Linked DNA regions of Homo sapiens: region 2 is linked to region 1. Evidence: promoter capture Hi-C in human tissues and cell types (Jung and others, 2019). All regions are on one chromosome and are shown on one strand. Each heading gives the region's core, a stretch centred on a gene start or on the middle of the fragment in contact. The rest is flanking DNA. Distances are from core to core; before and after follow the strand shown.

Evidence for each region. The method cuts DNA at HindIII sites, captures the fragments that hold promoters and counts their contacts. A contact is called where the count stands out against the background at its distance.
Region 2: the fragment with the promoter of CADM4 here is called in contact with the fragment with the promoter of DEDD2 in region 1 in 1 of the 25 tissues and cell types used here (dorsolateral prefrontal cortex).

Annotation. Positions count from the first base shown.
Region 1 is chr19:42,212,006-42,219,628 of GRCh38, forward strand. It overlaps DEDD2 (death effector domain containing 2), which reads right to left and starts at 5,672. Exons shown (of 5, transcript NM_133328.4): 1 at 5,627-5,672; 2 at 4,675-5,040; 3 at 3,128-3,247. The coding sequence starts at 5,002. RefSeq lists silencers at 4,803-5,008, 5,090-5,149, 5,160-5,259 and enhancers at 6,031-6,907, 6,908-7,623. The HindIII fragment of the contact is 17,474 bases long and covers 1-7,623 here.
Region 2 is chr19:43,636,900-43,644,522 of GRCh38, forward strand. CADM4 (cell adhesion molecule 4) reads right to left here and starts at 2,951. Exons shown (of 9, transcript NM_145296.2): 1 at 2,828-2,951. The coding sequence starts at 2,891. RefSeq lists a silencer at 2,835-2,974. The HindIII fragment of the contact is 16,381 bases long and covers 1-7,623 here.

The DNA.
Region 1 (7,623 bases), core at 4,422-6,921:
CAGCCTGGGCAACAAGAGTGAAACTCTTTCTCAATAATAATAATAATAATAATAATAAATTAATTAATTAAAAAGTCTGGCTGGGAGCAGTGGCTCACACCTATAATCCCAGCACTTTGGGAGGCCAAGGCAAGCAGGTCACCTGAGGTCAGGAGTTCGAGACTAGCCTGGCCAACATGGTGAAACTGCGTCCCTACTAAAAATACAAAAATCAGCTGGATATGGTGGTGTGTACCTGTAGTCCCCGCTACTCAGGAGGCTGAGGCAGGAGGATCACTTAAACCTGGGAGGCAGAGGTTGCAGTGAGCTGAGATGGCGCCACTGTACTCCAGCCTGGGTGACAGAGTGAGACTCCATCTCAAAAAAAAGTATTTGTGATGTTTTTGTTTCTTTGTTTAGAGTGGGGATCTCGTTCTGTTGCCCGGGCTGGAGTCCAGTGGCATGCCACCACACCCGGCTCGTTTTTTTTTTTTCTCTGAGACAGGGTCTTGCTCTGTCACCCAGACTGGAGTGCAGTGGCATGATCTCAGCTCACTGCAACCTCCACCTTCCCAACTCAAGCAATCCTCCTACCTCAGCCTCCTGAATAGCTGGGACTACACGTGCACATCACCATGCCAGGCTAATTTTTATATTTTTTATAGAGACAGGGTTTTGCCATGTTGCCCAGGCTGGTCTCAAATGCCTGGGCTGAAGCAGTCCACCCGCCTTAGCCTCCCAAACTGCTGGGGCTACAGGTGTGAGCCACTGCACCCGGCTAGGTTTTTTATCTTTTTAGACACAGGGTCTTACTATATTGCCCAGGCTGATCTCGAACTCCTGGCCTCAGGCAATCCTCCTGCCTCAGCCACACAAAGCACTAAGATTACAGGCATGAGCCACCAAACATGGCTATAACATTAATCTTTAAAATACTAACAGAAACTTTTTGAAAAGTCAAGTCTCTAACACTGTTCACTGAAAGAACCTAGAACAATATACACACTCAACACCCAGGTTTTGGTCTCTAAATACCACAGCTTCCTTGAAAAACAGCTGATTCTAGGGTGCGGAAGGGAAAGTTCAAAGTCAGCCCAGGACATCTTGCAGTGCCACAAAGCAGGAAGCACACAAAGAATGATACAAACACATGAAGAAGACACAAGAGGCTAGCCAGTTGGAACTGCAGGAAGACTGACTGACTGTAACAAGTCAGTAAATAGTGTATGGGTCTATAGTGACACTCAAACTCAAAGGGGCATTGGGGGAATACCTCTTGAAAGAGAAAGAAAAAAGAAAAAGAATTAGAAAAATCACCATTTTGCAAACACCAATGTGATAACTGGTTCAGGCAAAGCTCATAGATGTGAAACCCACTGAGTAAATGGCTATTAGGGAACAGGATATGCCAAAGTATCACCCCATAGACTGTTTACTAACCATGAGAACTAAATGTCCCTTCACAATGGACAAACATGGCAGATATCCCCTTAACCAAGTGACCAAACTTTCCCACATCGGAAAAGCCAGGCCGTACATGCCTGGAGATGTACTCCAATATGAACTAGATGGCAGCAACCAAGGATTATTCCTGCTAAAGATGTATAAACTGAATCTAACCAAGCCTCAGACACAATTCCCATTTAACAAAAAATGTAAGGGAAAGAGGGACGAGTTACATAACTCCATCAGGAAAAAAACAGACAGATAAAGAAACAATCAGGACATTCTACAAAACAACCGGCCTGCTAGGGTGAAAAAATCAATGTTACAGGAAAAAGAAAAAGGTATGGGGTGTAGGGGCAGTTTCTGTGCTATAGCAGGAGACATAACAACTGAATGCATACCAACTCAACTATGAATAGATTCTGAACGGTCCCACAGTCTGGGGATTTTTGAAAATGGACCATTAGAATGTCAGAGAATTCGTGTTTATTTTCTTAGGTATAATAGTCTTAAAGTGGTACAGGAGAATATCCTTATTCTCCACGGATGCCTAATTTAGGGGTAAAGCATCCTGATGTCTGTAATTTACTTTCAAAGGGTTCAACAAAAAAATCCAGAATTACGTATACACATAAAGCAAAAGTAGCAAAATCTTAACAATTATTGAACCTAAGTGGAAGATGTTAACTGTACTAATCTTTCAACTTGTATGTTTGAAATTTCACATAATAAAAAGAGGGGTGGCCAGGGCGCAGTGGCTCAAGCCTGTAATCCCAACACTTTCGGAGGCCCAGGTGGGCAGATCTCTTGAGGCCAGGAGTTCGAGACCAGCTTGGGCAACATGGTGAAACCTCATCTCTACTAAAAATACAAAAAAATTAGCCAGGCATGGTGTCATGCGCCTGTAGTTCCAGCTACTTGGGAGGCTGAGGCAGGAGAATTGCTTGAATCTGGGTGGCAGAGGTTGCAGTGAGCCGAGATTGCACCACTGCACCGAAGCCTGAGTGACAGAATGAGATTCTGCCTCAAAACAACAACAACAACTAGAGGTGGCTGGCATGATGGCTCATGCCTGTAATCCAGCACTTTGGGAGGCTGAGGTGGGAGGACTGCTTGAGGCTAGGAGTTCAAGACCAGCCTGGACAACAAGGGGGAGACCACACCTCTATAAAGGATGAAAAAATTAGCCAGGCATGGTGGCATACCCCTGTAGTTCTAGTTACTTGAGAGGCTGAGGTGGAAGGACAGCTTGAGCCCAGGAGTTCAAGGCCGCAGAGAGCTATGATTTCATCACTGCACTCCAGCCTGGGTGACAGACCAAGCCCCTATCTTGAAAAAGCCAAACAGAAAAAAACAAAAACTGGGGGTGGTGAGAATAAATAAGTTAATTGGGGCATGGCAATTAAAATAATACAATTAGAGATACTCAGCATGAATAAATCTCAGACACATCTAGCAAAGACAGCCAGGTGCAGAGTAATACCCACAATGTAATGCCATTTAAACGAAACACGAAACTATGTGCAACAATTCTGTATGTTGCTTCAGAACAGAGTATCTGTAGCAATAAACACACACACACACACACACACACACACACAGTGAAAATGAGACAGAATAACCCCTCAGGCCCCTTCCTTGATGGGCACAATTCATAAGGAAAAGAGGGATGCTGCCATTACACCCACCCAGCTGGGCTCACCTGTCTCCCACTGACCCTGCTGAGAATTTGCAGAACTGCTTGACTGCCGACGGCGACGGCAGCTACCCTCTGTCCTCTTTGAAGAGCTGGAGGTGCCATAGCTATAGCGTTCTGGAGACACTGGAGGAAGAGAAGAACAGGAAGAAGCATTCAGCCTCCTGGCCCTAATTCCCACCCCTGGAAGAATGCCTGCACCACGAGGTGCCTAAGTTCCCCAGTAGTCAGAGCCCAAATACCCACTCATTCTCAAACACCTCCTGCAGAGGTTGCTCAGATGCCTCCTAAGAGAGAGAACTTATCACGACTTGGGGCAATCTAACCCACGTCTACGGCAGCTCAAACTGTCAAGGTTATTCTGTTGATAGTCATGGTAAGGGTCCCTGTAATGGCCCTTTGCCCTGGCATCAACTGCCCCCAGCTCTCCCCAAGGAGTAAGCAGGCCTCTGTGCAGGCTCCCCAAATCTTCTCTTCTAGAGCGTGATCTTCAGACATAGATATCCAAAAATGCTGTCAGCTCTTCCCTAGAGCTGTCCTTCTCCTGCTTATCTAAATCCTGTGGGCTTACTCTGGGTCAGGGAAGGCCATAATCCCCCCTCCCCAAACTAGCCACTGCCCCTTTAGTAACCCAGACAAAGGCTTGGTCTATTCATGCACACGGCTACCGGCAGCCTGAACCCCTCCCAGCTTCTCATGTGAAGGCTGCTATCCTCCAGGAGCACTTCCTTCACAAGGATTAAGGGCATCAACTCTGGGGACAAGTTGGCTAGGTTTGAATCCTGGCTCCCACACTTCCCAGCTACGTTCTCTGCAAGCCCCTTCATGACATAACTTCTTACCTCCCTCTCTTCCCTAGCTTGGGTCCCCTCTGCTCCTGCCACACTGGCCTCTGATGATGCCAAACTCATTCCCACCTCAGGCCTTGGATGCTCCCTGGGATTTTCTCCCCTGGGGTCTATGCATGGCTGGCAGTGCAGCCTCAGGGCAAAGCCTCCCTTCACCTTGCTGCTCTCCTGACTCTCTCTATTCCATTACTTTTAGTCTTCCTACAACAGCGTCTAAAAATAAGTTCTCTTATTATCTGATTGCCCCCACTAAACTTAAACTTCATGGAACAAACACCTTGTCAGCTCCATCATCCTGTATCCCTCCTAGGCCCAGCAAACAGGATTGTTATTATACGTGCAAACTGCTTAACTTCTCTGAACTTGTTATTTTCTTGGTTACAGTGAAGACAGTAACAGGACTTCCTTGTGAGATTACTGGGAGACTATAAGGCACTAGTTCATATGAAGGGCTGACAGCTGTGCCTGGCATGAAACAAGCCCTCCGTAAACAGTGGCCAAAATCATCATCACTGATGTGGCCAAATTCCCAAAGCCATGCTTTCTTCCTCTTATGTTGCTCATTGATATTGTGGGAAGAGAGAGTAGCAGAATGGGACATAAGCTGCCTGATATGGCACTGTCCGTATCAGGGCACCAGGGAGGCCCAGCGGGAGCCAGGCCCTTTCCTCCCAGGAAGTGTGACACCCTCCCATTCAACCGTACCTGGCCGGCGCCGCTTGCGCGCCAGGTGCGGCAGCAGGTCGTGGCGGGCCAGCACGCGCAGGAGTTGCCCCAGCAGCCGCAGGTTGCTCTCGTCGCACTGCCCGCGGCGCTCCAGCTCCAGCAGGAGCTCTAGGCCGCTGCGGGCCCGGGCTAAGCCTCCGGCGGCGCCAGGAGCCTCATCCAGCAGAAAGGCCAGGAGCTCCAGCTCGCACTCGGTCAGTTGCCCGCCCACCACCTCGAACATACGGTGAAGCGACAGCATCCCGTAGTAGTCCAGGCACTCATCCTCCTCCCAGCACGGGGCCGGGGTCGACCCGGATAGCGCCATTCCCGGGGGAGGGAGGCGGAACAAGCTCAGAACCCGGCCTAGAACCCACACAGCGGGGAGGGGGCAGTGGTCAGCGACGCGGAGGCCCGAACCCCACACCGCCAGCGCGTCTCCCCCGCCCAATCGCGCCGGGCAGGGCCGCTCCCGCACCCCCAACCGCCTCGGCCTCCCCCTCCCCCGGGAGGGAATGGTCCCGCCCGAGGTCCCCTAAGAACAGGTCGGGACGCCGGAGCCCGCTCGGCTTCTGCCCCCACCACCGTGCTACGTTCGGAGCTCGCCTCCGGACCTGACCAAACGATGCGGCCCAAACAAGCCTCGGGGCCCACCCCGGGGCTCCCTGCTGACTGCCCCTGACTCTGGGTAGGACTGCCCAGACGAGCCCCTTTTCTCCGTCCAGCGGTACCGTCTGATGAGTCCCCCGGCTCTACGCAAGTGGTACCTCCCGAAAGTGACCCTCTGCCCCCTACACAGAGGAGCGACCCAGGCAGCCCCTTTGCTCCACACAGGTGGTACCGTCCGAACCCGACCCCCTCGCCCTGCAAGGGCGGCCCCGCCCGCTCCCCAGAGCCCAGGTGGTCCTGTCTACCCGCCACCAGTCACCATTAGGCCTCTCTGGATCCTCACCAGATTCTGGCGTCCGATGACTCCTGGGCGACGGCCGCAGCCACTTGTTTTGGATCTTTCTGGCACCTTCTCTATTATTACGCCTGCGTCACCTCGCCCCTCCTCCTTCCCCCAACTCGCGCAGGTGCGACCGCCACGCCCCTTCGGCGCATGCGCAGAACGAGGCCTCCAAGCCCCGCCCTTCCTGGGCCGCTTGACCTGCCCCCAACCGAAGCATCTTGGTTCGCGAGTGCTGCGCTTGCGCAGAGCGAGAGCACGCCGCCTCTTGGGCTGTATCTGGTACCCGGTTCCAGGTCCCTACTTCCTGCCCGTGACTCAAGCCACCGGGGCCATGTAGCGCCACGTCACGAGTAGTTGTAACTACTCATCTCATAAACTACAGCCCCCTCCTGATCACGAGCTAGACGCCCACATCACCACTGCCCCTAGTTGCCCGTGGCAAAGTAACACAATCACTACTTTCCCGTCTCCCAGTAAACTCCCAGGCCTTATATGATCTGGTCCTGGGCACTCCTCCATTAGATTGTCCCTCACTTCTAGTGACAACCAGGGATCTACATCTCAACTGTGCTCTCTCGTGATCCCAAATGGAAATCCCGCCCCCCCACCACCACCCCCGCAGTCTATAAGTTCCTTCCCCTGATCAAAACCAGAATTCCCTCATCTCACGTTCAGGACGGATACCTCCTTCCAAGCGGCAACAGAACCCTCCATTCCGACTGTGTACATCTCGATGGCGTCCATCACGACCCCCATCACAGTCAGATGTCTCCACCCAGAGCCAAAACGGCCCCTCCGTAACCCCTTCCAATCTCTGCCCTCCAGGGTCGCCCAGATACCCGCTCCCTAACTTGCAACAACTAGAGAGGGTCTGTCAGGGAGTCTAGGCTGTGGTGTATGCGTGTCCCCTTACCGCGGGGCCTTGGGTGTGACGGTCGCCACGCCCCCCACTTAGGTGACTCAAGGTCAGGACCTGCATGTACTTGAGACAAGTCCCCTCCCTGGACCTCTTCCCACCCCCGCAATTAACTCCTCTTGGGAGTCGGGAGATCTGGGTCCTGCCTAGCACTGGCCCAGTACTGGCTCTGCCTGAGCTGTAGCAGTGAATTCAAAAGAATCGGCTGCGCGCGGTAGCTCACGTCTGTAATCCCAGCACTTTGAGAAGCCGAGGTGGGCGGATCACACGAGGCCAGGAGTTCGAGACCAGCCTGGCCAACATGATGAAACCCTGTCTGTTCTTAGCCGGATGTGGTGGCACGCGCCTGAAATCCCAACTACTTGGGAGGCTGAGACAAGAGAATCTCTTGAACCAGGGAGCAGTAAGCAGAGATAGTGCCACTGCACTCCAGCCTGGGCCACAGGGCGAGACTTTGTCTCAAGAAACAAACAAACGCCAGGTGCGGTGGCTCACGCCTGCATTCCCAGCACTTTGGGAGGCCGAGGCGGGCGGATCACCTGAGGTCGGGAGTTCGAGACCAGTCTGACCAACATGGAGAAACCCCATCTCTACTAAAAATACAAAATTAGCCGGGCGTGCTGACGCATGCCTGTAATCCCAGCTACTCGGGAGGCTGACGCAGGAGAATCGCTTGAACCCTGGAGGCGGAGGTTGCCGTGAGCCGAGATTGCGCCATTGCACTCCAGTCCGGGCAACAATAGCAAAACTCTGTCTCAAACAAACAAACAAGACCGGACGCGGTGGTTCACGCCTGTAATCCCAGCACTTTGGGAGGCCGAGACGGGTGGATCACCTGAGATCAGGAGTTCGAGAGCAGCCTGACCAATATGGCAAAACCCCGTCTCTACTAAAAAATACAAACATTAGCCGGGCGTGGTGGTGGACACCTGTAATCCCAACTACTCGGGAGGCTAAGGCAGGAGAATCGGTTGAACCCGGGAGGCGGAGGTTGCAGTGAGCCAAGATCGTGCCACTGCACTCCAGTCTGGGCGACAGAGTGAGACTCCGTCTCAAACAAACAAACAAACCCTCCAAGAAA
Region 2 (7,623 bases), core at 1,701-4,200, 1.4 Mb after region 1:
AAAGTGAGTCACCCTGGGAAGGAAACATTATTTAGGGACCAACAACTGCCCCCTCCACAAGACCCCTCAACTCCTAATAGCCTCTCTATTCTTTCTTTGTATTGGATATCTGTTTCCTCTCCTCCTTTCTGTTCTACCCAGTTTCTGGCTGCGGGTCCCATTTCTGCCTGGGTGCATCCCTGGGCAGGCAACCCATCCCTCCCTCTTGCTTTCTCTCCTCTGCCCACCCTGGATCCTTCTTTGGGCATAAATCTCATCTTCTTCTGCTATGCTCAGAAGATGAATGAACCAGGAGAGAGAGAACATGTTTTTAAAATGGCGCAAATGCACCCCATCTCCCCCGATTCCTGCTGGCTGGGCAAGGTGAGAGAGGAAGAAGTGACTAAGAGAGAAATGTGGGAACAACAGATACCCCCTAAAATGTGGTAGCCAAGGCCACTGAGAAATATCCAATGGAAAGGAGAGCAGGAAGGGCCCTCCAAGACCACATGCTACAGCCTCCTACCCCATGCTTTACAGAACGGGAAAGTAAGGCCCAGAGAGGGACAAGGACTGATGCAAAATTATACTAAAGGGTCCTGGGTAAGGCTTGGACCCAAGTTCCTTAGCTCCCAGCTGAGAGCTCTTCCCATGACACCAAGCTCAGTTTCTACTGGTAAAAGCCACATACTATTTACTTTAGAGAAAGTTTACAGAGAGGGTTAGGGTGCCAGGAAGCAGTGACTTGGAAATCAAACGAGGGACAGGGCTGTAGACCTAACTCCCAGAAGCACCAGAGAAAGGCTTTTGCACGGGGCGGGTGGTCACCTTAAGCTATATTCTGATCCTGAGAATTCAAAGTCTGATGATTCTAAGCTGTCAGGATTCTAAATGTCATAGATGTCAAGATCCAGGAACTCCAAGACATCAAGATTTCACGATTTTTAAGACGTCAAGATGCTAGCATGCTAACACCATCACGGTTCTAGAACTTTAAAGGTGTCAAGATTCTAAAGCCTTCTGGATTCTAGAATCCTGTAGATGTCAGCATTCTAAAGTACCATCAGGTTCTTTATTTACTGGATTCATTAGTTCCAGGATTCTATGAGCCTGGTGTTTAGCCTAAAAAATAAAGATAAATTAAAATTGATGGAAATGTCACTGAGGTACCAAAGTTCTCATCTGGGAAATTGTGGCATGTCTGTTGTAAAGAAAGGAGGTAATGATGCAAGTTCTAAAGCAGTCACAGAAGACTAGAGAAGAAAGAAAGACAGTGAGAGGACAGCTTTGCCCCTCATCCTGGCCGAGGTGAGGATGGCTCTGCCTCAAACCCTGGAGTGGGGAACATGTAACCGCACTCAACTTGCCAGAAACCCCTTCACGGTCTGAGCTGGCGTTCCCTTTCATGTCACTGAGTTCAACATCCTCACTTTACAGAAAGAGAAACAGAAGCCTGGAGAGAGGAAGGTGTTTACCATTGGCTGCGATGGCAAATGGCAAGAGCCAAGATTTAAGCCCAGGCCGCCAGCCCCATGCCACCTGGTTATAACTCCTCTCACCAATCTCTGCCGAACACCCAGCCCTCCTGCTTCTGCCTAGCCACCTTCCAATCCTCTGTTCCTTCCAAAAGTGGCCTTATCCACCAGGGAGGGGTGACCCGTGGCAGGTTCAAGACTTACACAGTGTGAGAGTGTGTGTGGGTGACATTTCCTGACCTTGTCCCCATTCTCAGGGTCACCCAACCTCGGGGGTCTCCAGCTTCTCACAGTGTGTGATGAGGGTATGTGGATGGCTCCCTGGATGTCCTGGACAGGGGCTTCTCTGTGAGTCAAGCCTGGGTGTGTGAATGGGTGAGCAGGGTTTGGAGAGGCATTCGCTGAATCCACGTGTGTGCCTACACGCCAAGGTCCCCCATTCTCACTTCCCCACACACATGCACACAGATGTTCCCCTCCAGGGCTCTTTAGAATGCCCTGCCTGACTGAATTCCTCTTCAGGGGCACAGAGGGATAGAGAGAGGGAGGAAGGTAGGATGGGAATGGGAGATCCCGGGATGGAGGCTGTAAGCGTAGAGAGAGGAGGCACAGCAGAAAGACAGGGATGGAGATAGTGGGACAGAGAAGGGGGAAAGAGACAGGTGACAGAAAGGGTTAGAGAAACGAGTGACAGAAAGACAGGGGACAGAGACAAGGGGATGGGGCAGATAGGGGACAGAGAAAAAGGGACAGAAAAACAAGGGTGACAGCGAGACAGAGACAGGGACCAAGAATAGGGGCAGAGAGGGAGGGCAGAAATCCGGGGGAAAGAGAATAGACAGGATGATGGAGGGGACAGAGTGACCCAGGAAAAGGGGACAGAGACCAGGGGACAGAGGTAGGGGACAAAGACAGAATAGATGAGGAACACCGAGGCAAGAAGAGAGGGAGACAGACAGAAGGAGGGACAGGACTTCGAGACTGAGGGATAGAGGACAAGGGTAGGGGGACGAGGAGCCAGACGGGGGGGTTCAGAGACGGGCGGACAGAGGGACGCAGAGACTGGACAGAAGGACAGCGGGACCGGCCTGGGGAGGGCGGACTTGTGTGTGTAGGGGGGTCTCGGGCCCTTTGTCCCCGCCGGGATCCAGCCTGCGCGGGTGGGGGGGCTGCGGCACGGCGGCCGGGCCCCGCGCCCCCTCCCCCGCTCGTCGCTCCCGGCTCCCGGCCCGCGCTGCGCTTTGTCCCGGGGAGGGGGCCCGGCCCGGCCCCGCGCGCATTGTTCGGCCTCTGCGGCCCCGAGGCTGCCGGGCTGTCACCACAGCGCGCCCCCCGCCCCAGCCCGGCCGGCCGACCCCGGCCCCCGACCCTACCTGGCCCCGCCGCGGCCGCCCACAGCAGCAGCAGCGGCCACTGGAAGCGCCGGGCCCGGCCCATGGTGCCGCCGCCGCCGCCGCCGCCGCTCGCTCCCGGCCCGGCACCTGCACCGCCCGCGCCGCCCGCCCCGCCCCCCGCGCCCCGCCCCCTGCCCGCCCGGGGGCGGGGCGCCGAGGCCGGGGCGGGGCCGGGGAGGGGAGGGGGAGACGGAGGAGAGGCCCGGAGACAATCGGGGGGACGGCACGGTGGGGGAACGGTGCGGGGTGCGAAAGCTGGAGAGGAGAGGGGTGAGGAGGGCGGGAAGGGGTGCGCGGGAGGGCGACAGCGGCGTGGGAGCAGGTGGGGGATCTCGGTGAGCGCGGGAAATGGAGGGTGTTGGGTGAGGGTGCTGCGTGCGGGCCCAGGTGCTGCGCGCGAGGGTGCGGAGTTGCTGGCATGCAGGGTGCTTGCGCTGCGCGGAGGGGAGGGTGGCAGGGTGTTGCTGGAGGCTGTGCGAGGGTGGGGGCGCGGGCGTCGTGGGGTGCGGTGTGTGCGAAGGGAGAGCGTGGCCAGCGTGACGGGGGAGCGTAAGGGAGGGAGTGCGACGTGGGAAAGGTGAGTGTGAGAGGCGTGCTGCGGGCAGGTGGGTGTCTGGAGTCTAGCGAGAGGCTGTGAGCTGAGCCACCGGGACAGGGGAGGCTGCAGCTGGAGGTCCGGAGGGTCCGGAGGTCGAGGCAGGTCAAGGATCTCCCAGGGCAGGGCGAGGCTGGGGCTCAGGAGTGGGGTGGGGTCAGTTCCCTCCCTCCCTCTCTCCTGTCCTGACCTGAAAACCCCGTGTTTCCGCGTCATTCTCCGGGAGGGGCCCCCTGAAAGTGAACTAACTGGAAGGAAGCCTGAATCCTGGGTCCCAGGAGGGAGAGGCTCCTGTGAACACCTTCCAAGCCCTGGCGTCCCCTCTCCTCCCTGCTGTCTCCCTGCCCCAGCCTCTCTCCCTCTCTCTGCATGTATTTGCCTCTGCCCTTCCTCTCTCCCCATCTTTGAGGGTGACTCACCCCTCCAGACTTAGGTCCCTTCTCCCTCCTGGGAGTGGGTTTCCCTGAGCCCACTTCTGTGACACCCTGTAGACCTGATGCGGGATCATTACCTATGGGACCCAGAAAGAGTGAGAAACCATGGAAAGAAGGCCTCGACCTCTCTCATGCCCATTTGTCAGGCAAACTGAGGTCCAGAAGTGCCAATTATGAACATCTTTCCTTCCCCCCTCCCCCCTCCCCGCCCAGACGGAGTCTCGCTCTGTTGCCCAGGCTGGAGTGCAGTGGCACGATCTCGACTCACTGCAACCTCTGCCTCCCAGGTTCCAGTGATTCTCCTGCCTCAGCCTCCCGAGTAGCTGAGATTACAGGCGCCCGCCACCATGCCTAGCTAATTTTTATATTTTTAGTAGAGACGGAGTTTTGCCATGCTGGCCAGGCTGGTCTTGAACTCCTTACCTCAGGTGATCCATCTGTCTGGCCTCCCAAAGTGCTGGATTACAGGCGTGAGCCACCATGCCTGGCTGAAAATCCTTACTTTTTATTCCGACTAAAAAATTTTACATCCAGTCCCACAAGGGACTTCAGCTTCACACACCCTTTCTGTCCTCAGTACCCAGCTCCCAGTATCCTTTCTGACCTCAAAACCATAGCTACCATCAACCCTTGTGTCCCAGGACCATGGCTCCCAGTGTCTTCTCTGTCCTCAGGGTCCAAGCTCCCATCAACTCCTGTGTCCTCAGGACCACGGCTCCCAGCATCCTCTCTGTCCTTCAGGTCCAAGCTCCCATCAACCCCTGTGAAGCAGGACCATGGCTCCCAGCATCCTCTCTGTCCTCAGGGTCCAAGCTCCTATCAACTCCTGTGTCCCCAGGACGATGGCTCCAGCAATCCTCTCTGTCCTGAGAGCCCAAGCTTCTAACTGCCCCTGTGTCCCCAGATCCATAGCCCTGAGCAACTTCCTTCTTTTTCAGTCCTCAGCTTCCCAGCTTCTGTAGACTTGGGAAGAGATAGTCTCTAATCCTCTTTCCAGGGCTCACATTCTGTGACTTTTGCTAGATGGGAGAGGAATGTTTGATCTGCCTTTGGAATACTGGTCCAAGGGGTAACTAGTAGTTGCCTTTTCCCGCAGGAGCCAATAGGCCCGCTCACTCTGTGCTCTGACAGATGTCTCCTGCTCCAGCTGAAGGGGAACCTTGGGAGATGTTGGTTTGGTTCTCACCTGTCATCCTTAAGTCCCACCATTCCATGTGAAGACATCACAAGAGTAGTGGTCCTGACGGGCGCGTTGGCTCACACCTGTAATCCCAGCACTTTGGGAGGCCAAGGTGGGCCGATCACTTGAGGTCAGGAGTTTGAGACCAGCCTGACCAACCGGCCAACATGGTGAAACACCATCTTTACCAAAAAAAAAAAAAAAAATTAGCAAGGCGTGGTGGCACGTGCCTGTAATCCCAGCTGGTCGGAAGGCTGAGGCATGAGAATCCCCTGAACTTGGGAGGCAGAGGTTGCAGTGAGCTAAGATCATGCCACTGCACTCCAGCCTGGGTGACAGAATGAGACTCAGTCTAAATAATAATAATAATAATAATAATAATAATAATAATAATAATAAATAGAATAGTGGTCCTGTCCCCATCCTACTTCAGGGTACCCTGTCCATTAGGGATTTAGTGCAAGTGACAGCAAGTGCAACCCAACTGGTTTGAGAGAAAGAGAACTGGTTCACACATAACAAAAAGTCCTTCTATGGCTGGCTTTGGCGAGGTCTGTCAATCTCTGTCCTAAGGATGCATGGCTCCCCTCCTGTAGCAAGATGGCTGGCAGATACCCCTGGGGCCAGATTCATATTTGGGGTGATTAAGATTCTGCAAGAGAGAGACAACCTTTATTTCACACAGCTTTTCAATTGTTGCCTGTCCCTGGTGAGACTCGGAGACCTAGCTCTTGCCTGGTTTCTAAACTTTCAATAACACCGTTTTTGCTTAAGTCAGCACAAACAGATTTTATTTCTTGCAAGCAAAGATTCCTGAACAACAACTTCAGAGCCGTTAACAATGAGGTCCTGATCACAAGCTATGGTATAGGACGTGAGAAATTTGTCCCTAGCCTCAATATCTGCTGGAGGGCATCATGGAATAAGTATTTCTATCCTCTGATCCCCACTGTAGGGCATCATGGGATATATAATCCTAACCTTCAATCTCTGCCATAGAGTTTCATAGGCAATGCAGTCCTAGCCTCAATATGTTGTAGGGAATTATGGGAAAGGTGAAATTATCCTCAATTATAATACAGAGCATCTCAGAAAATGTCGTTTTAGCCTCATCTCTGCTGTAGGGCATCATGGGAGATATACTTCTGGCCCAATTTTTGTTGTAAGTTGCCATAGAAGATGCAGTCTTTCCTTCCTTCCCTTTTTTCTTTTCTTTCTTTCTTTCTTTTTTTTTTTTTTTATTATGTAGAGACAGGGTCTCTCGCTATGTTGCCCAGGCTGGTCCTGAACTCCTGGGCTCAAGCAGTTCTCCTGCCTTGGCCTCCCAAAGTGCTGGGATTACAGGCAAGAGCCATTGCACCCAGTCCCTTCTCTCCTTTCTTTCTTCATCACCTGCCATATTCCAGGCACTAGGAATAAATCATCAAGTAAATAAACGGCCTTACCCTCCCTGGCAATTATAATGGGGAAAGTTAGCTAAAAACAAACAAAAATTACTGTTCCATTTAACCATCGCTGAATAACAAAATACCCCAGAACGTAGTGGTGTGAAACAACAACCTTTTAATTTTATGATTCTGTGAGTCAGGAATTGGAGCAGGATTGGTGTGTATCTGCTTCATGATGAACTGGAGCCAAAAATGAACTAGCTGGAACAGCTGGAGATGGAGGGGAGGGGCATCAAGGGCCATATATCTAAGGCTGGTGGTTGGTGTTGTGGGTTTTGAATAGTGTCCTCCAAGTAAAATATATGTTGAAGTTCTAGCCCCTGGTATCTGTACATGTGACCTTATTTGGAAATAAAATCTTTGCAAATGTAATTCACTTTTTTGTTTGTTTGTTTGTTTGCTCGAGACTGAGTCTCGCTCTGTCACCCAGGCTGGAGTGCAGTGGCATGATCTCGGCTCACTGTAACCTTCACCTCCTGGGTTCAAGCGATTCTCCTGCCTCAGCCTCCCAAGTAGCTGGGATTATAGGCACGTGTCACCATGCCCAGCTAATTTTTGTATTTTCAGTAGGGACGGGGTTTCACCATGTTGGCCAGGCTGGTCTCGAACTCCTGACCTCAAATGATCTGCCACCTCAGCCTCCCAAAGTGCTGGGATTATAGGCATGGGGCACTGCATCCTGCCCAGATGTGATTAACTTCTAACCCCTGGTATCTTTGCATGTGACTTTATTTGGAAATAAGGTGGGTTTTTTTCTTGTTTTTTTTTTTTTTTTTGAGACAGTTTCACTTTGTCGCTCAGGCTGGAGTTCAGTTGCATAATCTCAGCTCACTGAAACCTCTGCCTCCGAGGCTCAAGCGATCCTCCCGCCTCAGTCTCCCGAGTCACTGGGACTACGGGCAAGCGCCACCACACCCGGCTAATTGTTGCAGTTTTTGTAGAGATGGGGTTTTGCCATGTTGCCCAGGCGGTCTCCAATTGCCACCCTCAAGCAATTCATCCGCCTCGGCCTCCCAGAGTGCTGGAATTATAGGTGTGAGCCATGGCGCCCGGCCAGAAAGTCTTTGCAGATTTAGTTGAATTAATGACTAAATGTTTCCATGCTGAGTTAGAGTGGG